7 separate regions of the Homo sapiens genome follow, and regions 1, 2, 3, 4, 6 and 7 are each linked to region 5. The links are contacts of gene promoters, found by promoter capture Hi-C in blood cells and fetal thymus (Javierre and others, 2016). All regions are on one chromosome and are shown on one strand. Each heading gives the region's core, a stretch centred on a gene start or on the middle of the fragment in contact. The rest is flanking DNA. Distances are from core to core; before and after follow the strand shown. Region 1 has its middle 620 kb from the start of DIAPH3-AS1. Region 2 overlaps DIAPH3 (diaphanous related formin 3). Region 3 overlaps TDRD3 (tudor domain containing 3). Region 4 overlaps TDRD3 (tudor domain containing 3). Region 5 holds the start of PCDH9 (protocadherin 9). Region 6 overlaps LOC105370228 (a long non-coding RNA gene). Region 7 overlaps TDRD3 (tudor domain containing 3).

Region 1 (3,354 bases), core at 825-3,324, 7.8 Mb after region 5:
AAGAAGGAGGTAAAATAAGGATAAGATTTAACTGCTTCTTTCCAGGGAAGCTTGGAGACAGTATCACTTCCTTTTTTTAAAGTTGGAGGCAGTTTTATTTGTTTAGGTAAATCCCATGGGAAATGAATAAGTAAAGTTATCAACTGACATGCTTCAGAGGCTGAAAATAGATCCCAGAACATGATTTCCTTTTTGTTTATCAACCATATGTATTTATTCCTGGTTTTCTTCTCATAGGCTCCCGGATTGGGGGAGTCAGAGATAGTAATAGCTGAAAAGAACTGATCTTTTTTAGTTTGCTTGTTTTTGGGAATTATCTCCCCAACATTTTATTTAAAAAATTTTCAAACGTACAGTATAATAAGCATTTTTCACATTTGCTTTCTCTCTCGCTTTTTCTCTTTTTTTTTTTGGCTGAAAGTTTGAAAGTAAGTTTCATGCAGAATCATGATACTTTCTCTCAAAATATTTTAACATACATCTCCTAAGAACAAAGATATTACCCTATCATTATCATATCCAAGGTATTTAACATGCATACAATAGTATATTGTAACATGCAGTTCAATTTCAAATTTCCCCTAGTTGTCCCAATAATGTTTTTTTATAGTCATTCTTCTGTTAAATCCAAGATCCAAGGAAGGATAACACATTGTGTTTGCTTCTCTTGTTTCTTTAGTCTGTGTCCATCTAGAACAGCTCTCCCTTGCCATTTTGTAGTTTGCAACATTAATATTTTCGAAGACTCCAGGACAGATGTCCTAGAGAAAGTTCCACAATTTGAATTTGTCTGATACAATTCTACTAAGGCAACTGTGTTCAAAACCTACTTAATTATTTCTCTTTTTTTGTGTGTGGTTATATTATCAAGTTGATATATAGTTAGATTCATTTGTTTCTGTTTGATTTCAATTTTAAGAGTTTGCTTTTGGTAAGTCCTTTTTAATATAAATTTAAATTTAGAATTATGAAACATTTACATGATTCAAAAGGCAAAACTTCATTTAAAGTGTCTGTTCAGAAGTTTTATTCCTGCTTCTTTCTCCAAATTTCCATCCACCCCTTATGATAAACCATTTTCATTAGTTTCTGATTTGTTCTTCCTATATTTTATTTTTTAAAAATAAGCAAAAAAGTTATACATGAATTATATATACACATAGGTATATATGGGTGTATATATATATGCATAGGTATATATGTGTGTATATATATATGTGTGTCTATATATACATATATATTTTCTGCCCTATGGGAAACATATATAAATATTATCTATCAATCTATATATCTTCTGTGGCTGTGCATTTAGGTTTTTCCCAATATTTGCTATTACAAATAAAGCCTTAGCAAATAATCTTGTGCCTATGCTGTACTTGTGGAGGTGCAACTGTGAGTATGGGTGCCATGCTATACCAAAGGTAAGTGCATGTATCATTTTAGTACATATTGCAAATTGCCCTCCATAGGGTTGTATCATTCTTCACCTCCACAAGCAATGTGTGAATGGATCTGGCATGAATCTGAACACTTTACATTATCTCACTGAATCCTCACAACAACTTTTCCTTATTATGACATTATTTCTTTGTTTTGTGACCCTTATGTATACGTGGGAGATTAAGGCTCAGAGATCTTCAGTAATGTCTCCAGGGTTGTATGGTAAGTAACTGGCATAGCTAGGATTTGAACCAAGATGTTGACTCCAGACTCATGCAACTAACCACCTCACTGTACCATATACTCCTTACATTAACTTTCTTGAATCATATTTTTGGTGTATGGATAGGATTAATAGGAAATTTCCTATTCCCAGAGATGATGTTCCTGAAAACCTCAAGGACTTCTGGAGAATCAAAAGAACTTACTAACTTAAGGAATGCCAGAGAAGTAAGAGAACAGCTTTCATGTTCATGCTGTTTCTTAAGGAGATGAGTGTTCAATCCAAGTCCCTAGGTCTCATCCAAAGATTCTAACCTAGTAGGTTTAGCTATGACAGCAAGAGTCTTTGAAAGAGGAGAAGTTGGCCAGGTGTGGTGGCTTACACCTGTAATCCCAGCACTTTGGGAGGCTGAGGCGGGCGGATCACGAGGTCAGGATATTGAGACCATCCTGGCTAACACGGTGAAACCCATCTCTACTGAAAATACAAAAAATTAGCTAGGCGTGGTGGTGAGCGCCTGTAGTCCCAGCTACTCAGGAGGCTGAGGCAGGAGAATGGCGTGAACCCAGGAGGCAGAGCTTGCAGTGAGCCAAGATCGCACCACTGCACACCCGCCTGGGTGACAGAACGAGACTCCGTCACAATAAAAAAAAAAAAAAAAAAAAAAGTTTTAGGAAGGCTCCTCTCTCGGAACAAGGCACGAGAGTACAGAGAGTTGGATCCAGTTCTAAGGCAGAGTGGGCTGCTGGGAGGAAAACAGGGAATCAAAACCAAGGTAAACAATTTAGGATTTGGGGCAGGCTCCAGTCCCAGCAGAGAACTGGAAAACAAACCAGGAACCTGGAGAGGCTCTTAGGACCAGACTTAGGGGGTCAGCTTTTCCCATGACAGAGACAAGAAGTAAATAAACATTTCAGATACAGATAAATGCTATGGTCCAGCACAGTAGAATAGAGAGGAGTTAGGATGTTTAGGGAAGACCTCTCTGAGAAGGTGGCCTTTGAGGTAAGATATGAACAATGAGTTGGCCAAAGACCTGGGGGCAAGAAACTTCTAGGCAAAGAAAACAGCAAATGCCAAGTCCTGAAGGGAAAATGAGGCTGGAAAAATACGTTACATAAAGTCTGGTAAAGCTGGAATAGGTAAAGTTGGAATAGATAAAGAGGAGGTCAAAGGCACAGATCAGGCGGGGCCTTTGTTTAAGGTAAAAGAATTTGGGCCAGGTGCGGTGTCTCACACCTGTAATCCCAGCACTTTGGGAGGCCGAGGCGGGCGAATCCCGAGGTAGGAGTTTGAGACCAGCCTGGCTAGCATAGTGAAACCCCATCTCTACTAAAATTACAAAAAATTGCCGGGCATGGTGGTGGGTGCCTGTAATCCCAGCTACTCAGGAGGCTGAGGCAGGAGAATTGCTTGAACCTGGGAGGCAGAGGTTGCAGTGAGCAGAGATCGCGCCATTGCACTCCAGCCTGGGCAACAACAGTGAGACTCCCGTCTCAGAACAAAAAAACAGTTTGGACTTTATTCTAAGTGCATCTGAGCATGCTTGGGGGAGGCAAGTTTTGATGGATTTCTGGAATGTGTTGCAATTTAGTCATCAGGAAATGTATTTAAATTCAGTTCTATGAGGTATGATAAGTTCTAAGGAGACAGGAATAGAAATAACTGCTATTGATTGTATATACTCATTT
Region 2 (3,668 bases), core at 346-2,845, 7.1 Mb after region 5:
GAAAGCTTTAGGCACCTAAATTTTATTCGTGTCAGAATTCTACCTAACACACACCAGGCATTGTAAGCTTCAGAAGGAGGTAAAATCATTTTATTCAGGCTGCTGTTCTAAGAAATTGCTCTGAATTTTCCCAGCCATTCTTTCCTTTCTATCCTTCTTAATAAAACAGAAAAACCCAGAAATTTTTTTAAATAAATGATTTATCAAAAGAAACAATATATATTAAGTGGCTTTTTGGGGGATACATTTAGTTGCTGAAAGTAGATAACATATGGCATTTAATACTCCTGGACCACTCTGGGTCTTTTCTTTGACGGTAAAAAGGGGTGGGGGTAGAGATAGGGATGATTGTCTCAGATTTAGAACAGGGCTTAATTGCTTTTTTCAAAGACTCATGTCTTTAATTATGAAGCAAGCAAACTGACATACATTTATTACATGGTGAAACCTTGCATCTCATCTAGTCTATCTTGTAGCAATTGCTTCTGAACAGATGTTACCTGAAACACCTTTGTGCAGTTGGTGGAATGCTAAAATTTGTCATGCTTTTATTATTGTTGTCTTGAATTAACTCTACTTTATGGCGTAACTTTATTGCTGTGTCCTAGAATCTTTATATATTTATTGCCTTATAAATTGGATTTAAAATTGGCTTTTTATATAGAATGTAAATTAACATGTGTCTAACTTGTTTATGCTGCAGAATAATACAGGAAAAAACTGCTACGTATTACACTAATGTAATTGTCTTTAACTTAGCACATAGTATCCTCTAAACTAGGAATCAAATGAATGCTAAAGAATATGCTTATCCTTACACTCTTGCTTGTTTATCTCAGAAACTAATTTGACTTTTAGATCTATAAAATATAGATTAAGCATAACCTTTTACTTCATGGGATATTAAGGATCAAAGCATGGGCTTTCTTTGAACAGGATCTACAAAGGTAACTTTTCTTTCAGTAGCAGCAGGATGGCATTGAAATACCTTACCATTGGGAGTAATTTTTCTCAAATAGCAAATTGAATAGTCTTTATTAACTTAGGGGAGAATTTAAGAGTTTAAATAAGCTTTGGTCCTGAAACATTCATGTTACTAGTTACTTAGTGAAATCTATTTGGAAATGCTTGCCATAGATTTTATTCTTCAAAAGACCCACTGCTATCTTTTCTTACAGTTTTTTGTAGAAGAAGCGTTATGAGTAACATTTATGAGCAGTGACTTGAACCACTCTCAGGGGTTGAATCCCAGCAATATCACTTATTAGCTGTGTGAACTGAGCAATTACTTAACCGTTCTCTGTGCCTCCCCTTTCTCATGTGTAACATGGGGTTGTCATGAAGATTAAAAGTTATGTTTTGGGCCTAGAATACCTGGCTCATTGTAACCTCTATGGAAATATTTGCCATTTATAGGATTGTTGTTTTTGTTATCATTAGTAGTAACAGTAATAATAGTACAATTTTTGCCTACACTTTAGGGCATTAGGAATACATTGGATATTTGAAAAGCTTTCTAATCTTGGAAAACTTAATTGAACCAGGCTATTTCCTCTTGGTGTGCTGGAGGCAGAGCCATTCTGTTCTTAGTTCTTATCCTGGCATACCAGGTAACATTTGGATTGATGCAGAGTTCTGATCTGATGACTGAATGGTCAGAGCAAGTTTCTGAAGCTTTCTTAGGGGCCTGTTCTTTATGTCTAAAGTGGGGATAATAGGATGATGAAACTTGGGGTACAAATGTAACTTACAAAAAAACGTATAAAGGAAACAACTTCAAACTTAGGAAAAAAAATTCTTGTGATACTCCAATATGGACTTGAATGATAATAAAAATAATGTTACTAATATATGTACAGATATAAAACTAAGTGTAACTCTTTATGCCTATCACTTTTTACAGCTATAAAACTAAAACAGATTTACATCTACAATCCAAAACAAAACTATAAAACCCATAAAATTCAAATTAACAGCAACATTAATTTAATGCGATTGATGATGTTTTGCTGAAATTAAGTCATCATTATTGGATTTAATAGTGGAAAAATATGTGTATATTTTGCTGTTTTTCTTTCTATCAATTTAATTCTTGGGTGGAAATGGAATCCCAGAGGCTGAGGAAGATATGTGTAGACTGAGGAGTTCACAGATAGCCTTACACTGTTAGCAGAGGCCTGTCATCGGACACCATTATCTTTTTCATAGGTGTTGGCTTGAGGATGTAGATGAAGTAGTGAACTGTTATAAACCTGTTTTTAAAAAGAAAATAGCCATATATAAACATTTTTTAGTAAATGTTATAAAACTGTTGAAGCAGCAGAAAAAATAAAAACTCTTATACTTCCAGCTTCTATATTCATTTTTCTCTTGAAATCTAATTTTCCATACCTGTGGGTGCATAGTTTCCAGAATAATGTGATTTTGGAATTATAAATAGCCATTTGGAACTGAACTCTTCCTAAGTGGAAGAGCTTGTGAAAATCTATTGTGTCATGATGTTGCTTGGCCCTCATTGAGAACCATATTGGTAGTAAATACAAAAGTATTTACAAAAGTAAAACCAAAAGTTCCTGAGAGAACATGGTTATAGAGTGGGTCATTCACAATGTCCAGAATATGCTTACTTTAGTTCTAATGTTTAAGATAATCTTGAAAAAACATAAGACTTAAGTAGAATTTGTGGAAGGCCTCTGTAGACCACAGTTTGGGGTACCCAGAGATGACTTGAGTTAAGAAATTAGATGTGTACCTGAACCAGGCAAATGTTTTTCACCTTAGTCCTTTGTTTAGTGATGAGGTAAAAGTGATTAGTAAGTATCAGTAGTGAAGGATGTATACAATGTGTTTCAAAACAGTTTGCTTCTAATAGTTTTTTTGGTTAAATAAGAAACTTGCAATCTTTAAAAAAATATATTTTATCATGTATGTATCATACAAAAGAGGTGTAAAACACTGTATACTCACTAATAAGCTTAAAACATTAAATATCATAAATTCCATTGAAATGTTCATTTTCTCCCTTCTTATCTTTATCTCCTTCTAATCTTTACTCTTCATTTCCTGGGTTTACAGGGCTTTTTTTTTTAATTCAATTTTGATTTTTTTAAATTCAATTTTGATTTTTTTAGGGTTCCAATTTATATATATATATATATATCTTTCCCTAAAAGTAAATCTGTGAATGGAATTAATACTCAGTAGCTTTCTGATCTCTCCATCTTTGAGGATCATGACAGATCTTAAATACTGGAAAGGAAGGGGGAGACTATGAATTAATGTACCAAGTGTGAGGTCATTCTGTGTGCTGAGGGATGTGGGATATATCCAAGTAGCTGTGGTCTAAGTACACACCCTCTTGAATTAAAGAAGACTGAATACCTGTTCAGTCATAGTTCTGTCAAAGGAGTTATGGTGTAGAATTTCTTGAAGCCCTTAGTAAAAGCCCTGAGTAGATTAATTGTGAGATCCATAATGCTGCATTTATTTAGTTAATTTTATTATGAAGTATCTTCCCAAGATACAGAGAGTTTATCCCGTAATTGCTGCATTTTTTTCCGAGGTTGGCTGTTTATTTGGGTGTCATAAAATGAAACTTTGTAACATTCAGTTTTTAAGTAAAAGATTTGCAAATTGGTGACATTAATTATGGACTTTACTATAGAATT
Region 3 (3,678 bases), core at 175-2,674, 6.8 Mb after region 5:
CTGCTCTTTGCTATTATACAAATATAATCTCGACTTAAGTATCTGTTAATACCATAAGATCTTAAAAAGAGATTGAGATGTGTTATAAAAATAAAACTAAAATAAACACTGTTTTAAACTGAGTACAGCAGAACTTCTCTCTGGACTTTCTCACATTATCTTCTCAAGTCCCCTTTCTTTCACATAAGGTTCTCAAGGATCCTTCAATAAAGGCTATTAATTCCAAGTAACACAAAGATAGGCAACTTTTTACAATACATCTTTTACTTTTCCTATCTCTTTTCAGTTTTTTTTACGCATTGTCTTATTTGCCCTTTTTTCTTTTATCCAGTCCAAATCAGCCATGCATCTGTCAGAGACAATTAATTCAAGAGTAAAGAGATTACTGAATCTGAAGGAAAAAAATTCGTCTCTACCCATACCCATGGACATTTTGAAACTCTTTGATAAACTCAACAATTCTAAAATCAACCATCAAAAATCCACTTGTAAAAACCCCAATTAATATCTCACATTTTTTATAATCAGTATCAACCCCTTTAACCAAATGGCTAATGGTACCATCACCATTGCAGACATTCTTCCACAGTTAAAAGGATCCAAGACTGCTAGTCTAAGAGATCTAACTCAAGCTCATTTTTGATGAACAGCAATTCCACCATCAACTCTCAACACTAGACTGATTCTAAGATACTTATCAAAGTAAACCTTACCCAGAAATAGCAACCAAAAAAAAGTGCCTTTAAGAAGTAGAGAATAATTTCTCCAAAGTAAAAAAGCAAGTGAAAAGAAATGTGAATAGTTAGAACAGTACAGAAGAGCAATAGAAGATTAAAGTAGATAAGCCAATGAGCAAGACCAAGGCGATAAAAGTCAGAAAAATATATATTTAAGTCAAACCAAGAATGTTAACAAAATGAGGTACTATTAAAAGTTTAAGACCATGACACTGTTAAACCACAATGATAAATGAAGGCAAGTAGTTAAATGGGTGACAGAGAAAATACAAATATATCGATGAGTCAGTAAGAATGAATAGATGGTAGGCAGGAATGACAGTATATAAGTGACCATGGAATACAAATATCTGCAGTCAATTTTGATGGTTAAAATACTGCTTTAACTCAAAATGGCTATAATAATTTATTATCCTGTTAATTTTTCACTATGAATAATGAAAAATTGTCCAACTGTATCTGTAACTCTAATTAATAATCTTATAAATTCACTTTCATAAATATTATGCCCCGCTTATGTGAAAAGTATTGTGTGAAATCAGTAACAAGATTAGTAAAATGATGAAAACTAAACACCTGCCCTCAAGAAGTTTACAGTCTGCTATACAGTATAACACAATACATAAACAGCTATCATACAAGGCCAAAATAACTATAAAAATGTTATAGGAGCTCAAAGTGGCTGTGGGATGGGAAAAACACAGAAAAGGAATAGTGTAATCAAAAACATGGAAGTGAGTAAGTGTGAAGCACCTTCTAGGAATAATATCCTAGAGCTTTCTGGCTGGAAAATGGAGAAGAAAAAAGAGATAAGTATAGGTTGAGACCAATTTTAGAAAGCAACAGTACACAAAAGGATATGGGTGATAAATTAAATTCTGATTGAGTGATTACAAAAACACAGCTTTCCAAGCTCCTACACAAGAGGGAAATAGTATGTAATGACTAATAGAATATTTTGTTTTCTAGAAAGGAAACTGTAGAATTAAAGAATTATAGGATGTCAGATAAACTAGAATAGATTAATTAATTTAAATTATAATAGATTATTTATATTATAATAAATTAATTTAATTTAAAAATAACCAAAATTCACCTCTTCAACTTTACAGATGAAGGAGTCCTAGAGATGTAAAATTAAACTTGCCCCAAAAATACAAATTTAGAAGATGCAAAGTTAAAAACAAAAATGACTCCTAACTCCCAATTCAGCACTCTTTCCATTATAACACACCATTTTCAGCTGGGCACAGTGGCTCACGCCTCTAACCCCAGCACTTTGGGAGGCCAAGGCAGGTGGATCACCTGAAGCCAGGAGTTTGAGACCAGCCTGAGCAACATGGTGAAACCCCGTTTCTACTAAAAATACAAAATTAGCCAGGCATGGTGGCACATGCCTATAATCACAGCTACTCGGGAGGCTGAGGCAGGATAATTGCTTGAACCCGGGAGGCAGAGGTTGCAGTGAGCCGAGATCATGCCATTGCACTCCAGCCTGGGCAACAAGAGCAAAACTCTGCCTCAAAAAAAAAAAAAAAAAAAAAAGTTTAATTTATCAAACAATTAATGCTGATACTAGTGATATGATAATCTCATTAAAAAAAGCCAGTAGCTATCCAAATCAGTTTCCTAATCAGCTAGATACTTCAGCTCACACAGACAAAAGCAGAACTAGACAAATTCAATTGGTGAGCTCCAAAGTACATTAAACAAGAACAGGTATAAAACTCAGTTGATAAAAGCAGTCATGCTGTTCCCTTCTGCATCGTAGAAGATCAGGAAACTAATATCAACTAATTATTAGATATTCAAGTTTTCAGAAGAATAAAAATATTCCATCCCTACAAAATATTAAAAGGTAAAGTCTAACAAAAATTCTAAAGGCAGAGTTGTAAGGGTTTGGAAACTTGCCTTTATCCACATAAGTCAAATATGTGATTTCTTTCAAACAAGGCCCATACATCACATTGCTAGACTTAAAATTATACTACAAGGCTATAGTTACCAAAACAGCATGGTACTGGTATAAAAATACGCAATGATACCAATGGAACAGAATAGAGAACCTCGAAATAAAGCCAAATACAGCCAACTGATCTTCAACAAAGCATACAAAAACATAAATTGGGGAAAGGACACCCTTTTCAATAAATGGTGCTGGGAAAACTGGCAAGCCACATGTAGAAGAATGAAAATGGATCCCCGTCTCTCACCTTATACAAAAATCGACTCAAGATGGATCAAAGATTTAAATCTAAGACCTGAAATCATGAAAATTCTAAACATTTTCATGGTTTAGAAATTCTAAACATTGGAAAACTCTTCGGACATTGGCATAGGCAAAGAATTCATGACTAAGACCCCAAAAACAAATGCAACAAAAATAAAAAGTAAGTAGAACTTAATTAAACTAAAAGCTTCTGCACAACAAAAGAAATCATCAGCAGAGTAAACAGACAACCCACAGAGCAGGAGAAAATATTTGCAAACTATGCAAAAAGGACTAGAATCCAGAATCTACAAGGAACTCAAACAAATCAGCAAGAAAAAAAAAAAAACAACCCATCCAAAAGTGGGCAAAGGATGGAAATAGACATTTCTCAAAAGAAGATATATAAAAACAGCCAACAGACATAAGAAAAAATGCTCAGCATCACTAATCAACAGGGAAATGCAAATCAAAACCACAATGAGAAACCACCTTACTCCTCTAAGAAAGGCCATAATTAAAAAGTAAAAAAAAAAAAACCATAGATGTTGTCATGATGTGGTTTACACTGCTGGCAGAAATGTAAATTGCTACAACCACTACGGAAAACAGTATGGAGATTCCTTAAAGAACTAAAAGTAGATCTACCATTTGATCCAGCAATCCTACTACTGGGTATCTACCCAAAGGAAAAGAAGTCCTTATATGAAAAGACACATGCACACACGTTTA
Region 4 (3,650 bases), core at 839-3,338, 6.8 Mb after region 5:
AAATGGAGATAACCCCAAAGGGGAAAGTGAAATTCAAGAGGTAAGAAGGAGACCTTTGTTTATCCTCTCCATCCCATCTCTGCCCTCAAAACAAACAAACAAAACAAAACCTGGAGTACTCCATGGCTAACACCTGGGTGTTAGAAAACTGGGCTTCCTAAGACTACATGTTCTTTCAGAACAAAATGGAAATGCTATTTCATATGCTACCTTAAAGGGTCTTCAACTCAAACTACTGGGTAAAAGAAGCAAAGACACACAATACAGTGTCCCACTTTTTCAGATACAGTCATCCCTCAGTATCCATAAGGGATTGGTCCCAGGGCCCCTACAGATAACAAAGTCTACTGATGCTCAAGTCCCTGACACAAAATAGTGTAGTGTAGTATTTGCATATAACCTACACACATCCTCCTGCATACCTGAAATCATCTCTAGACTACTTAAAATACCTAATACAGTGTAAATGCTATGTAAAATTATATTTTATTTTTTATTCATATTATTTTTGTTGTTGTATTGTTATTTTTATTTTTTTTTATTTTTCCAAATATTTTAGATCTGTGACTGGTTGAATCCAAGGGTGCAGAACCCACAGATATGGAGGGCCAACTGTATTCTTAAACCTTAAAAAATACAGAATTTACCAGATTTTCAGATAAGCCTAGTACACAATTAGTTGATTCACTGCAAGGCAAAGATTTATTTGATTCTAATAGGATCACCCCTCAGAATAAGCCCTTTATCTTTCCTGGACTAGGAAAGTAAATTTACACACCACAAAATGCTTCAACCCAATTTTCAATTTTTAAATGTGTCACTTTTGATCAATAATTTAAATTAGATGCGGTCACTTCTGTTAATTTTTGGTGGAAATGAGTACTGAATCTTTATTCTAGACATCTGGGCTCTATTCTTGGTTCTGCCATTTATAACTCTGAGCAAATTATTGAAACTCTCTGTGCTTCAGTTTCTTCATATGCACAGAGAGAGAGTTAAGCTATGCAACATTAATTCCATGGAAGACACTTTTTTTTTTTTTTTTGAGACACAGTCTCGCTCTGTCGCCCAGGATGGAGTGCAATGGTGCAATCTCGACTCACTGCAACCTCCGCCTCCTGGGTTCAAGCGATTCTCCTGCCTCAGCCTCACCAGGTAGCTGGGATTACAGGGGCCTGCCACCACGCCTGGCTAATTTTTTTGTATTTTTAGTAGAGACGGGGTTTCACCATTTTTGCCAGGCTGGTCTCCAACTCCTGACCACCCGCCTTAGCCTCCCAAAGTGCTGGGATTACAGGCATGAGCCACCACTGCGCCCAGCCAGAAGATACATTTTCAAAAACAAAAACACAACTGATTAGGTACCCCGTGACAGGTTTCTGTTAAAAACAAACAAACAAAGGAGGAGATGGAAGAGAAAAATTCAAAATGTCCAGAGATCAACATTTTGAATCTTTCTCCTGTGAGTAGAATTTTATATTTCCACTCACAGTGATCAGGGATATCATCCTAAAGGAGAATGAACCTCTGAAGAGAGAAAACAAAAATGCAGAGTGAGTAAAATTGTTATCTAGATAAATTCAGAGTCAAATTTCTTCTCCCCGTGAAGTTATTCCATGCATATAATTAAGCTTTACAAGGTACCATTTAGTGCATTATTTAAACATTATCACTACTCTGTAGAAAGCCCTGGAACATTCAAGTTCAAATCAGCAAAATCTAATAGTTTGTGTGCTACTGGCCATTGAAGAACAAAAATTATTTTAAGTCCGCCAGGTAGCTACTTTTGAAGTTATATTTTAAAATACTGATTTTTATAGGGGTTCTAATGAAGATTAAAACCTTAAGAAGGAAAAAAACTGCGCTTAAAAATAATGTAAACTTGAACAGATTGGTCTACATAGATCTTCTGTACCCCCCTGAAGATCACATTTTCAGAATTGTAAACTTTTCAGCACTAAATATTTCCCTAATCTGCTATTTTAGGTGAAGCCTATAGAACAGATTTAACAATAGTGTGTCCATGTTTTAGCATCTACTTCTTTTTAGCTTCTACAAGTAACTAAGTACATAGATTTGAATACTAAGAAAAATGGTTTGTCAGTGACAGTTAACAGAGAACCCCAAGTGTAAGAGCAAACTCAGGATATAAGAACTAAAATGAGTTGGTGAAAGCCCTTCAGTCAGAAATTTTCCCTCCAGTGCTCTTTTCTGCCTTTAAACCTTTGTGATTCTAAATTTTAACATAGTAAGTCCCCAATTAAAGACCTAGTAGAAGCCACCTGAAAGCCTAGGAGATCCTCATGCCTAGTCTGTTCGAGACCTAGCAGGAATTACATGAAACTCACAATTCCTAGAAAGATAGTGTTTTTAGCCCCGCAGATTACTACTGCCTTTATGAGTCACTGCCATACAGAAGCAGCACAGACAGGTGGGAGAAACATAAACAGTTAAGTTGCAATATAAAGTAGCAAATGCTACAATATAACATTGCTGAAGATTTATAACAATATAACGAAGCAGGGTGGGACTCTACCTAAGCTTCTGCAGAGGCCCTGCCCAGAGAATTCTGACTGGCAGGGGCATTCCAAGGTCAACTGTATTAGACTTTACAGAGAACCTACAATCTGGTGCATTTCTTGACAATCCAGATAAGGAGAAAAATAAGACTCACTTCCCTGCCCTGGAAAAGCATAAGAGGCCAGAGAAAACAAAGTCAACACGTGTTCGGGACCTAAAAAATGAGACTAATCTTTCCAAAGGAGGGGGGGTCATGTTGGAAAGCAGTAAAATACTGAGTTTGTAAATGAAAATATTACTAGTGTGAAGGATCAACGCTCAACCTAATGAGAAATGGGGAGAAAGGCAAATGAAAGAGGGATCCAAGATTATTCAGGACACCCTTGTGGGTAAAAAAACTGAAAGAAGAGATTCCTATTGAACAGAAACAAAACTGAAGACAGTGTTTTTAACTCTACAATCTTTTACGCCCATGCTGTTCTGCGAAAAAACTGTAACAACAATAACGCATAAGCGTTAAAGGAACCAGGCCCAGAGCCAGGCCCTCTGTGCTCAACATTCAACTCCACCACTTTCTAGCTATGTCATTTTGGGAAAGTTACTTAACAGCTCTTTGCCTCAGTCTCCTCACCTGTAAAATGGGGTGTATAATAACACAAGTGCCTTTAAAATCAGGAGGGGCTTCTTCAAAGCACAGTTGTGATTATATCCCTCTACTGATCAAAAACTTTATTCACAAAATCAAATCCACATCTTTCACGAACCATATAGATCTTGTGTAGGTTCTGCAAAACAATAAGCGCTTCCCTGTGTCATCTCCAGCAGCTCTGTGCTAGAAAGCCTTTTCCTTACCATCTTTCCAAGTCCACTTTAGGAAAGTAACTCTCCCTCCCATTCCACAGTGCACTCATCTGTTCCTCTGTACGTACGGTTTATCACTATTCCCCCTGGTTTTGTTTGGTCTTTTAATGCCTCACTCTTTCTCCTAAAGCAGTAATTGCAGAGAGCCGTTGCAAATCTTTTTCATCCCCGTTCCTACCCTTCATCCCAGAATGTGCCTGTGCAAGCCTGGGAAAAGCGTTACTGAATTAAACGGGATGATTACAACCGTAATGGCCGCAATTCCAGAA
Region 5 (3,591 bases), core at 924-3,423:
GTAAATGTATCACAATGATGGTTCATTTATTTAAAAACAGTGCAGTGCATAAAATAGGTGACAATTGGAACAATGTACTAGCTTTAATTGTAGATTTTGTGAATGGCAAAATGATCGTTTACTGTGGTAAGATAAAAGAATCATCCTTTCATTCACTGACATTATTCTGTGAGGCAATATTTTTCTTTTCACTTTGGGATACTTGTAAGTCCTTTCTATTCTTGAATTTTATATATTCTAATCATACAAAATATTACTATAATAAAAGTTGCTTTGCTATTTAAAAAATATCAGTCTATTATCTGCAAGGAAAGTATTTTATATTTTACATATAAGGGATTAATGGATTTTACAGTGGGCTTTTAGACACTGCAGTTGAACTGTGAATATTAACTCAGAAAAGTTTGAATTAAAAAGAGCTTACAATTTCATGTTGGAAAATTGTGATGTCAAATTAGTTGGTTAAATCATGTCATTATTTATTCAATATATGGCTTAGTAAGCTTGATTGGTGTTTTTTTTTTTTTTTACTTTTCATTTAAACGTCTAAAAACAAATGTTACTTAAAAAAGAAAAAAAGCAAACAAAACTATTGTACTCAAAAACAAGGGGTAATCTCCAACACGCCCTCAGTCAAGAGCTTAAGTATGTCAAGAGCCTTTAATGCCTAGGCAGCCCATTATAGAATGGGGAACACACAGGTTTAAAATAAATGCCCTTTATTCTTCCTGTAAGTTAGACCAAGTTATTCAATCATGTACTAAGACCTTCTCTGACAACCTTTATAGGTCATTCAGAAAATAAATTTTTGTTCCAAGTGAACTGTTCCTATGTTAATGCTTCAAACTTTACTCAGGTATCAGGCGTTAAGTACAAGCCATTACACAAACCTTTGTGGTTTACTGACTTTGAAAGATCAATCAAATATATTACTAGATAGTGCTTTGGGGGTCAGTATTTGAGAAATAAAGCTGTATTTTTTGGGGAGTCATTCCATCCAGTTCCCGTATGAAAACGAGAAACTTGTGAGGATTTAGTACAGAGCTGGAGTCGGAGAAATGAAATGCACGGGAAAAGACGAAAATCACAGGAAAGAAAGTTGGAATCAGCAGAAAGTGCCTAGGGGAAAGGAAGTGTTCCACAGCTTGGGAAACAGCTGCCTGGGACTCCTTCCAGCCCCTCGGAAGCAAAGTTCGCAGTGAGGTGGGCTGGAAGCGGGTTTTGCAGCAGCCGCGAGTCCGGGCTCAGGTTTCCAGGCGCGGCTGGAGCAGAAGTGCAGGGACCGCCACGATCCACCGCCGCGGCCGGTCCCGCTCCGCTAGAGGAGACTTCGCACGCGCAGCCGACTGGCCCGGGCTGACCGAGGGGACCCAGACGCTGCCACTTTCTCTTTCCAAGGCAGTTTCCGTGGCTCTGCATGTAGGAAGTGCTCCGATTAATTTTCTTTCCGGTCTCCGCAGAGATTCCAAATTCTGCGGTCCCCACCTTTCGCTGTACTCCCTCTCCGCCCTTCTTTCCAATGTCCCTGCCAGCAAAAGCCTCTATTTGCAGCACCGGGCATGTTGTCCGTTTAACGCGCTCCGGGGATCTGCTGGCTCGTGCTCCCAACCCAGGGGTGGCTATACGTCTCGCGCCTCTGTTCCTGGGTAGACTCCCCCATCTGTGCATTTTGGCCCCTTCACTTAGCAAAGAGATGTGCGAAGTGTGCGCCTGGAGACGAGCCGCCTCGGTGACCCCCATCCGCCCGCAGCGGTGGCCCTGGTTCCCCGGATCCGCGCCCGCGCCCTGCGGGTCTCCCGCGCCGCCCTTGCCCGCCGGACCACCCGGGCTCAGAGGGTCGCTCGCTTTCAGCGCCTGCGAGCGCCGCTTCCGCCCGGGCCTGGGGAGCGCCAGCGCGTCCCTCCCACGCCGGACCCTGCAGAGCATGCTCAGTGCACCTCATGGAACCCGGCTCTCCTGGGGCCAGGATCAGATTTCCGGGTTTTCGCTGCTGCCGAGGGGGCGCGGAGGAGGGGAGGCTGGGAGACAGTCAGCGCCTTGTTCCGCGCTCCCTCCCTCGCGCCGGGCTGCGGCCGCCCGCGCCGCAAGATGCAGGCCAATCAGAGCCCGGGGGCGGGGCCTGGGCAGTCACGCCCTCCCTCTGGGCTTATTGAGAGTTATATCAAGAAATTCAGTTCAGAGAGAGGAGAGGGAGAAGGAGAGAGGGGCAGAGGGGAAGGGAGAGAGGGAGAGCACGCGAGACGGAAAGGAGCGCCTCAGAGTCTCTGAAGCACGCAAGAGATAACCGATTAGGAATTTTTCGGGCAACTGTCACCCGGATAGCTGTCAGAGAATCATCATCACCGCAACTCTGACGTTTCCTACAAGAAGTTAGAGACTTAAGCAGTATTGGCATCGGATGGAAATGGTATGCATGCTGCTGTGGAAAATATCCCTGAGCTGAAGAAGTGCAACTATGTGTTGTGTGTGCTAAATGCCCAGAAGAACCCAGACCCAGTGGGTAAGAGAGACGAAATGTGGAGAGAATGACTAACGACAAATCCGTGAATTTGTTCTCTGGAGTTGCTAATTTGCCAGCCCGAAGCAACACATTTTACAAGGAGGAAACATTTTGCTGCTTCTGATTTCTCCCCAAACTGGTGCTACCAGATGCATGGCTTTCTATGTGTTGGAACAAATCATTCCTAACTGCAGCATACTGGGAAAGGGGAAAGGTTGAGGCAACTAACGTAAGTGTAAAGTTTCGCATGCACAATTGTAAATTCTGTGTTTAGATGTGTCCTCAGTGTAGGCGAAAGATGCTTGTAATTGGGTAGACGGTTGGGGCAGAGCTCACCTACTCGGCTGTATCTGCATCCCTACCTGCATCACTCTGCCGGAACTAATCGCGGGCATCAGCTACTGTGCAGCCTAATGCAGATAAGATTAGAGCCTGAGAACTGACCAGTCCTACTCAAGTAGGTAGCTGCCTGGAGCCTTGCACCCATTTAAACTGCAGTTATCTAAGCAGAAGCCTTTTTACCTGCATGATTGGGTTGCAGTATTTATGTGTGGCAAATGTTACTAATATTCTAACCAGAGATCAGGATTAAGAAATTGCATTTTTTTTCTCTTTTATGTTCAGTAGAAAATATTGTGATGTTACATGGGAATGTTAGCTGCGTTTCACTTATATCTCGGCACTCTCTTCCACCTCTAGGAAAATGAATCCTATATTATTATACATTTTTAAAAGTTTTAATGTGTTTATGAATCCTAATGAGGATAATTTGTCAATATGGAGAAAGGAGAGCAAGCTGTGGGCAAGAAATCTGAAGTCTTGTTGTTGTGCTTTTAGGCAATGAGGATGTGTAGAGGCCGGTGACTATTGCTTCTGATGCCGCTGCAGCGGCATGTCCGGATGCTCGTTTCCCAGTAAGATTGTATTAGAAGGCAGTTGAAGAACTGGGAGGAAAGAAAAAGATAGCCTTTTTAGAAAAGATAGGTGACTCAGTGGGGCAGAGAAGAAAACACATTTGACATGTGACAAAGCAATTAGCAGGAACCGTAGCTAAATACTTAGTGTTTTTCACTTGCACCTGAAAAGACTGA
Region 6 (3,379 bases), core at 117-2,616, 6.9 Mb after region 5:
TATCAGAAGCTGTTTCTTGATCATTTTAGGTAATAAAAAGAACTCAGGGATCCTGGGTAATTCAAGTCACTATATATATTAGCTGTCATAAATTCTCAACAAATGGCCCTGACTGTGACCCTTGTTATACTATTGACTAACAGCAAAAAGGTAAAAGGGTTTTTTTAAAAAACAAAACAAAACAAAACAAAAAAAACACTCATTTTTGTAATACCTATAGATTCCATAAGGTGGTAATGAGTTAGGCTCATTAGAGTAGTTACAGGAATGTGACAGACCCAGTAGAAAAATACCCTTCTCTTTGAAAGTAATATATTGAGGGGCATGCAGTCAAAAGCTTATTGGGTTAGAAATAATATTGGAAGCTCTTCTTCACACCAAAACCCTGTCAAAGACTTACTTACTTTCTCCAATTTCTCTCCTCTATTTTCACTTAAACCCATCTCATTTTGTCCCCATTACTCCTTTGAAACTGCTCAAGGTCATCATAGGTCTGCAGATTGCCAAATCCAGTACTCAGTCTTTCTTTACCCTTTTGTGGCCAATCAGCCTTGACAATGGACACAGTTGAGCATTTCTTTCACTCTGATACATATTCTTCATTTGACTTGCCAGATACCATAGTCTCTTGATTTTCTTCCTACAAGAGAGAGAACAACTTCATAGAAATTGACCCATTTGAAAGATTTTAAAAATATTCTCAGAAAGACATTCTTTGTCAATGCCCTATAATCCAAGATGGCTGAGGGTTCAGTGATCTGAAGGTTTGCAATATTATACAAATAAAATAATCTGCACTAAGCTAGAGAAATATAAACAAAGCAGGAGGTGGGAAACCTAGCATGAGATGAAACTGGCACTTAAAAGAAGTCTGATGGTCTGGCTCCTACCTAGCATCACTTGTTATAAATTCTCTTCTTGCAACAGGGGATAATTATTTTAATTGCAAATATTCACTGGGTTTGCAGCTTGGGGGCCAAAAGTCAATTAGCCATTGCCTCTTCACTGGCAGACCATATGTTCACTGTGCTGGGAGACAAAGGCCGAGATAAAGGTCCTGAAACTGGGGTCTAGGCAAACAAAGAAGGAACTGAAGGTAGTTGCTAAGAAGTACAAATCCCCTGCCCAGCTTCTATGTTGAAAGACTCTAACTTTACATCAACAGAGTTGGTGATTAACCCATGGAATTTACAGACTCAGAGCTAACTAAATTCTTTTAAAAACTGCGCTGCCAAAGAAATTCCAAGATTAATAAACAAAAGTTGATAATTACTAAACCCCTAAGTCCTAAGAAATCCCTTCACTTCCTCTCAGTGATGTCCTGGTAGAATGGTAATACTGGCTATGGGGAGCATTTGATTCATAGTTGCTGATTTTGTGGTATAAATACTCCCTTCATGGCCATTTCAAGCTATCAACATGTTTCACTGGATACAGAGGTGAGAAGGGATGTATACAATTGGCTCTCACACTCCTGTCTCCTCTGTACCAGGAAGTGGGGTGTAAAGATGTACATCCACCACAAGGGGCTTCCTTCCTATTACTCATTATCTATGGAGGATACCAGATTTGGGAGAGCTTTCCAGAGGGAAGAAAAGAGGCAGCTAAATTCGCTGTCCAAAAATTTTCTTTTACCACCCAGTCAAAAAGTTCCTCATCTGCAGGACATGATATATAATATTGAGTCAGTCACCACTTAAAGTTGTTTCCCATTCTATCCTCCTCTCTAAAAGAGTTCTAAGTTGATATTAGCCTATTTCTATCTACAATTACATTTTGAGTGTATTGGGAGGGATTAGATTTATCATTTATCTATAAGTTCTCAGACCATGAGAATTATATTAAGATCTAAACATGCTGATATGGTTTGGATCTGTGTCCCTGCCCAAATCTCATGTTGAATTGTGATCCCCAATGTTGTAGGTGGGGCCTGGTGAGAGGTGATTGGATCATGGGGGAAGGTTTCCCCTCTGGTGATGTTCTTGTGACAGTGAGTGAGTTTTTGTGAAATCTGGTTGTTTAAAAGTATGTAGCACCTCCCCGTCTCTGTCTTCTTCCTGCTCTGGCCACATAAGATAAGCCTGCTTCCCCTTTGCCTTCCCATGACTGTAAGTTCCCTGAGGCCTCCCTAGAAGCAGATGCTGCCATGCTTCCTGTACAGCCTGCAGAACCGTGAGCCAATTAAACCTCTTTTCTTTATAAATTACCCAGTCTCAGGTATTTCTTTATAGCAGTGTAAGAATGAACTAATACACATGCATAACCGAGATATTATAGATTTATAGTTAGATGCAGTAATTGTACCAAATGCTGAGTTGTCTCACTTGCGGGAAGGCATGAGTACACATGAAAGTGTGTCATTACGTGGCAAATTAAGACATGTTTGGAAGCTTATCTACATGAAGAAAGATGTGTAGTGATGTTAAGTTAATCAAAGGGTAGGTTCCAGATGATTTTCTTAAGTCATTACCCCGCTTTTGCTAGCAGTTTTGTATTTGAACTTCTTTTGGGTTCCCATTTCTCTGCAACTCTTGCATCCATGTGGTTCAGGTACAATTTCATCTCTTGTTCCAGGGATGAAGCATATGACTCAGGCCTGGCCAGTCAGACTACTAATTTCCCCTAGGGGATAATTTGATTTGGAATGGGAATATGACCCCAGTTGGTCCAGTAAAAATAGCATCTAAGATTCTGCTGGAGTTACCAGTAAGAGACATGTTCCCTTTTTACATAGGTTTAAATCCGGGATGATACAAGCCTGGAGATACAAGAAACCACTGCTTGAGGCCTTAAAATGATGCCCCACAGTGGATAGCATGGTTGAAAAAGATAACTTGATTTATTTTAGCCCTTGAATCAAGCCAAACCTGATGAAATTAGGTTGTACAGGCCAATACATTCTTCAGCCTGTTTGAATTGGATTTTCTCTCTTACAACCATTTCAAGCACTTCTCTGGTGTATTTCAAATTGAAGAGAAAAAATTTACACTAGATTATAGAAGTTGTATATTTAATATGCACACTTCATCTGATTCCCTTAACCACAATCTACTTGTTTAATTAAATGGAATGCTACCATTTCAAAAAGAAATCAAATAGCATTTAGGAAAGCTAGAATACTGATTATTTTATTCCCTATCTGAAACCTTTCAAAAACTCCAGAAAATTAATGCATAAAACAAACACTGGCATATTTTATGTTTACCAAATAAAATTGAAAATTGAGATTTCCACAGTAGCTGGTTTCTGTGACATTGCCCCAACTGTGTCATCTTATGATCAAAAATTCTACTGCCATCAAGGTCTTGTCTCTGCTGTCTGTGTTCCATTCAATTTTATTGACCCACAGACCTGTCAGATTTTTTGTCTCTACAGAAAT
Region 7 (3,614 bases), core at 72-2,571, 6.8 Mb after region 5:
TGTAATCCCAGCTACTTGGGAGGCTGAGGCAGAAGAATCACTTGAATCCGGGAAATGGAAGTTGCAGTGAGCCGAGATCAAGCCATTGCACTGCAGCCTGGATGACAGAGCGAGACTCCGTCTCAACACAACAACAAAAGAGTGTTTTCTGTTCAGAGACATCAAGTTTAAAGTGCTCCCTCTCCTGGTATACATGAAGCATACAATACCACCAAAACTAAAAAGTTGAAGAAGTATGAGTTGTAATTGACATATTTTCACATTTTCCTTTTTAAAATAAAAACTTTAACTTCGATATTAAATCTAATGCTGTATTATATGTGTTGGCCAAATTTCAATCAAAGATAAAAATAAAACAAATATACTTAGAGCAAAGTTGAGAAATAACAGTAAAATCTGCTTACGTGTCTGAAAAGTAAATTTAACTAAAGTGGCAACTTCTACATCTTTAAGTAGTATCATACCTTAGGGGAAAAAGGCTGTTTTAAAAATAGGCTTTTAAGTAAAATCTTTCTGTGCATATTAATTTATATTTTCAGCAAAGAGAAATGTGAAATGATAGACAAATATTTACACTACATTTCCTAAGCAAGCATGTTCCTAAGTTGAAAAATTTCTACTCCATATTTATCAGTATTTTGCCTAAAAAAGGAGTAATTTTGTTATTATAAATTTAGGCCTAGAGAACATAATTGGAAAAGATAATCTAAAATTTCATCTAATTTTCACTTACGAAAAAAAATTCCAAGTTGAAGCAAGTCCGAAACTGTTAACAAGTATAGATAAGCTGCTAATTCAGGATGAACTTTTTATTTGGCTTTTGTTAATGCCATTAAAATAAGGACATTTAAATTAAATCACAGGCATGTTATGGTTATTATAGCTCATAATTCTGTTTATTTTGGTATCCCATATTTTTAGCCTAGGCATTGACAAATATCTAGCCTATGCTGTCCAATACAATCCTCCAGCCACATGTAGCTATTTAAATTTTCACTTAAAATTAAGTGAAATTAAAAATTGTTCAATCGTACTAGCCATATTTCAAGTGTTCTATATATGGAGAGCACAGAGTTAGACCACTTTCATCATTGCAAAAAAACCATCACACAGTTGGTGATGATCTAGGCCTACATGTTCCAAAATGAGACTCATGCATCCTAGGCACCGCACTTCCATTCAAATGTAGGAGGGAAACATTTGCTTTTATTTAATGTTTAGTAGTCAAAAAAATCCAACTTTACCAATATTCGATATCTGGAGCAACCATGGCACCCTTATTCAATCCATACAACACAGGTCACTAGGCATCTTCATGGAATTTTGGGAGTTCTACGTCCCCTGGGTGTTGACATGACACCTTCTCTTGTTTGCTTTCAATGTGTTGTGACAAACTGCCTTTTCTTTGTACAGTTAAATGGACACATGCATTACATTACCTAGTTTTACTCACTATTGCTCACAAAGTGGACATGTCACTTTAAAAGATTCTGTCAAAGGAACACAAATTGAAGACAATGCCATTGATGCAAACACAGGGCAGGAATAGGACTATTTTGGTGATCTCCTACATCTGGTTGACTATGAGAACAAAGATCTGGGGAATGAAGGATAAGGAGGAACACCTGCCCCCAAATGCCGATTTCCAAGCAAGCAGCAAGTTTACTTATTTAATTAATCCAACTCCTGGCCTCTCCACCTCTTTTAGTGGGTTAAATAGTGGCTCCACCAAAAGACAAGTCCACCTAGAACCTATAAATATGACCTCGTTTGGGAACAAGGCTCTTTTCAGATGTAATTAAGGTAAGGATCTAAAGATGAGAACACTGTGAATTACAGTGGGCCCTAAAGCCAATGACGAGTGTCCTTAGAAGAGAAGGGGAAACAAACACAGACAGAGTATAAAGACCATTTGAAAATGAAGGCAGAAATTAAAGTTATGCATCTACAAGCCAAAAAAGGCCAAGGACTGCTACAGCTACCAAAAGCTAGGTGAGAAGCATGAAACTGATACTCCCTCAGAGCCTCCAAAAGGAACCAACCCTGCTGACACTTTAATTTTAAACTTCTGGCCTACAAAACTGTGAGAAAATAAATTTCCATTGTTTTATAGCCACCAAGTTTGTGGTAATTTGTTACAGCAGCCTCAGATAACTACTATACCCACTTATGGAATGAGTTACCTGATTGCGAAGAAAATACTGTATATTGGCCTCAGCCTCACTCATCTTCCTCTTGAGATCTAGCCTAGCTAGGGAACATGAGGGAGGGGGCACTTATTCAGCCTCCTCACCGGATTGGCACTTCTACGAGTGAGTGTACAAGCCTACATGTTCTGTGGTTCAGTTAATGCGTCCATTTGGCTGTCCCACTAAGCCACATCTTCAAAATACATTTTAATCAGTAATAAAGTTATTTTGGCCCACATATGCCACTCTTGTACTTGTTAACTGGTTCAAAAGCAAGGTAGAAAGGAGGTATTATTTATTAGATCCTCCTGAGAAACCCACAGATTTTACAGAATCTCTTGTCACTTCTTAATTTGAATCATCAAGCCTTAAGTTAGTAGTTCCACAATTCAGAAATATTCTATGAGTAAACCAGTAAATATAACGATTTTTTTCATTATTCTGCTTACAATATTCAGTTTCTTATACTCTGTAGTTAAAACATAGGGAAGTAATGGACCTAGATAAAATATACATAATAAAATTTTTTAAATGTTATGGTTCTAAGATCCTAAATCCTGAATCTAAAATCATCTTAAGGCTGGGTGCGGTGACTCACACCTGTAATCTCAGCACTTTGGAGGATGGAGGTGGGTGGCTCGCTTGAACCCAGGAGTTTGAGACCAGCCTGGGCAACATAGGGAGACCCCATCTCTACAAAAAATACAAAAATTAGCCAAGCGTGGTGGTGTGTGCTTGTAGCCGCAGCTACTTGGGAGGCTGAGATGGCAGGATCTCTTGAGCCTGGGAGGTGGAGGCTACAGTGAACCACGATTGCGCCACTACACTCTGGCCCAGGTGACACACATACACACAAAAAGGTGTCTCAAAAAAAGTCATCTAAAACATCCACAAAAATAGACAAGAATTAATTTCTAAATCTTTCTTCAACTACTGTTAAGAGCAACTCCAAAGTAAAAAAAATACCAATTTCAAATGAAAATAATAAAAAGGATTAATCTTGATCACCCAAGTCTTCTTTAATGTCTGATTTTCTCTTTTGTATTAGTAATAAGAAAAAATCAAAAGAAATTACTCTAAAAAATTTTAGTGGCTTAGAAAGATGTATCATTGCACCTCCAGGTAAGCATGTCTAACTCTAACAAACAATATTAAGTATCTGCTAGAAATATTCTCTCAGGCCATTAATCCAGGCATCATTCCTTCTTCTCCTGAGGTAGACGAATACCTCTGTCATCTAAACTCCTAACTAGTCATACCAACGGATATGAAATATCAGATTTAAATGGTTGTGTTAATTTATTAATTTATTGATCATACTAAATAACATTCTTGTCTATCAATCAGACTCCAAAGTTTGGATGACAGGGGACTAATTCTCTACAGTATAATCACATCTGGATAAACACTTAAAACAATTTTTTT

The links. Contacts are between HindIII fragments. The CHiCAGO score rates a contact against its expected background, and 5 or more counts as called.
Region 1: a fragment that was not itself captured here is called in contact with the fragment with the promoter of PCDH9 in region 5 in 1 of 17 cell types (total CD4 T cells); the score reaches 5.1 in total CD4 T cells.
Region 2: a fragment that was not itself captured here is called in contact with the fragment with the promoter of PCDH9 in region 5 in 1 of 17 cell types (total CD4 T cells); the score reaches 6.1 in total CD4 T cells.
Region 3: a contact is called between a fragment that was not itself captured here and the fragment with the promoter of PCDH9 in region 5, in 4 of 17 cell types (naive CD4 T cells, non-activated CD4 T cells, activated CD4 T cells and 1 more). The highest score is 8.7, in naive CD4 T cells.
Region 4: a contact is called between a fragment that was not itself captured here and the fragment with the promoter of PCDH9 in region 5, in 10 of 17 cell types (total CD4 T cells, non-activated CD4 T cells, naive CD4 T cells and 7 more). The highest score is 68.2, in total CD4 T cells.
Region 6: a contact is called between a fragment that was not itself captured here and the fragment with the promoter of PCDH9 in region 5, in 4 of 17 cell types (naive CD4 T cells, activated CD4 T cells, total CD4 T cells and 1 more). The highest score is 8.2, in naive CD4 T cells.
Region 7: a contact is called between a fragment that was not itself captured here and the fragment with the promoter of PCDH9 in region 5, in 7 of 17 cell types (total CD4 T cells, non-activated CD4 T cells, naive CD4 T cells and 4 more). The highest score is 36.9, in total CD4 T cells.

The regions. Positions count from the first base shown.
Region 1 is chr13:59,394,943-59,398,296 of GRCh38, reverse strand. No RefSeq gene overlaps it. Among named protein-coding and RNA genes, the nearest start is that of DIAPH3-AS1, 620 kb to the left of the region's middle. The HindIII fragment of the contact is 4,044 bases long and covers 53-3,354 here.
Region 2 is chr13:60,151,980-60,155,647 of GRCh38, reverse strand. The region is part of intron 1 of DIAPH3 (diaphanous related formin 3); the gene reads left to right. It overlaps DIAPH3-AS2 (DIAPH3 antisense RNA 2), which reads right to left. Exons shown (of 3, transcript NR_046540.1): 3 at 2,143-2,252. Among named protein-coding and RNA genes, the nearest start is that of DIAPH3-AS2, 9.1 kb to the right of the region's middle. The HindIII fragment of the contact is 162 bases long and covers 1,515-1,676 here.
Region 3 is chr13:60,435,726-60,439,403 of GRCh38, reverse strand. The region is part of intron 1 of TDRD3 (tudor domain containing 3); the gene reads right to left. Among named protein-coding and RNA genes, the nearest start is that of TDRD3, 40 kb to the right of the region's middle. The HindIII fragment of the contact is 3,464 bases long and covers 1-3,156 here.
Region 4 is chr13:60,398,133-60,401,782 of GRCh38, reverse strand. All of the region lies in intron 1 of TDRD3 (tudor domain containing 3), which reads right to left. Among named protein-coding and RNA genes, the nearest start is that of TDRD3, 2.7 kb to the right of the region's middle. The HindIII fragment of the contact is 910 bases long and covers 1,634-2,543 here.
Region 5 is chr13:67,228,918-67,232,508 of GRCh38, reverse strand. PCDH9 (protocadherin 9) reads left to right here and starts at 2,173. Exons shown (of 5, transcript NM_203487.3): 1 at 2,173-2,729. RefSeq lists a silencer at 1,763-1,902. The HindIII fragment of the contact is 4,939 bases long and covers 506-3,591 here.
Region 6 is chr13:60,378,183-60,381,561 of GRCh38, reverse strand. It overlaps LOC105370228 (a long non-coding RNA gene), which reads right to left. Exons shown (of 3, transcript XR_942002.3): 3 at 114-640. Among named protein-coding and RNA genes, the nearest start is that of TDRD3, 17 kb to the left of the region's middle. The HindIII fragment of the contact is 2,053 bases long and covers 340-2,392 here.
Region 7 is chr13:60,456,149-60,459,762 of GRCh38, reverse strand. All of the region lies in intron 3 of TDRD3 (tudor domain containing 3), which reads right to left. Among named protein-coding and RNA genes, the nearest start is that of TDRD3, 61 kb to the right of the region's middle. The HindIII fragment of the contact is 6,261 bases long and covers 1-3,614 here.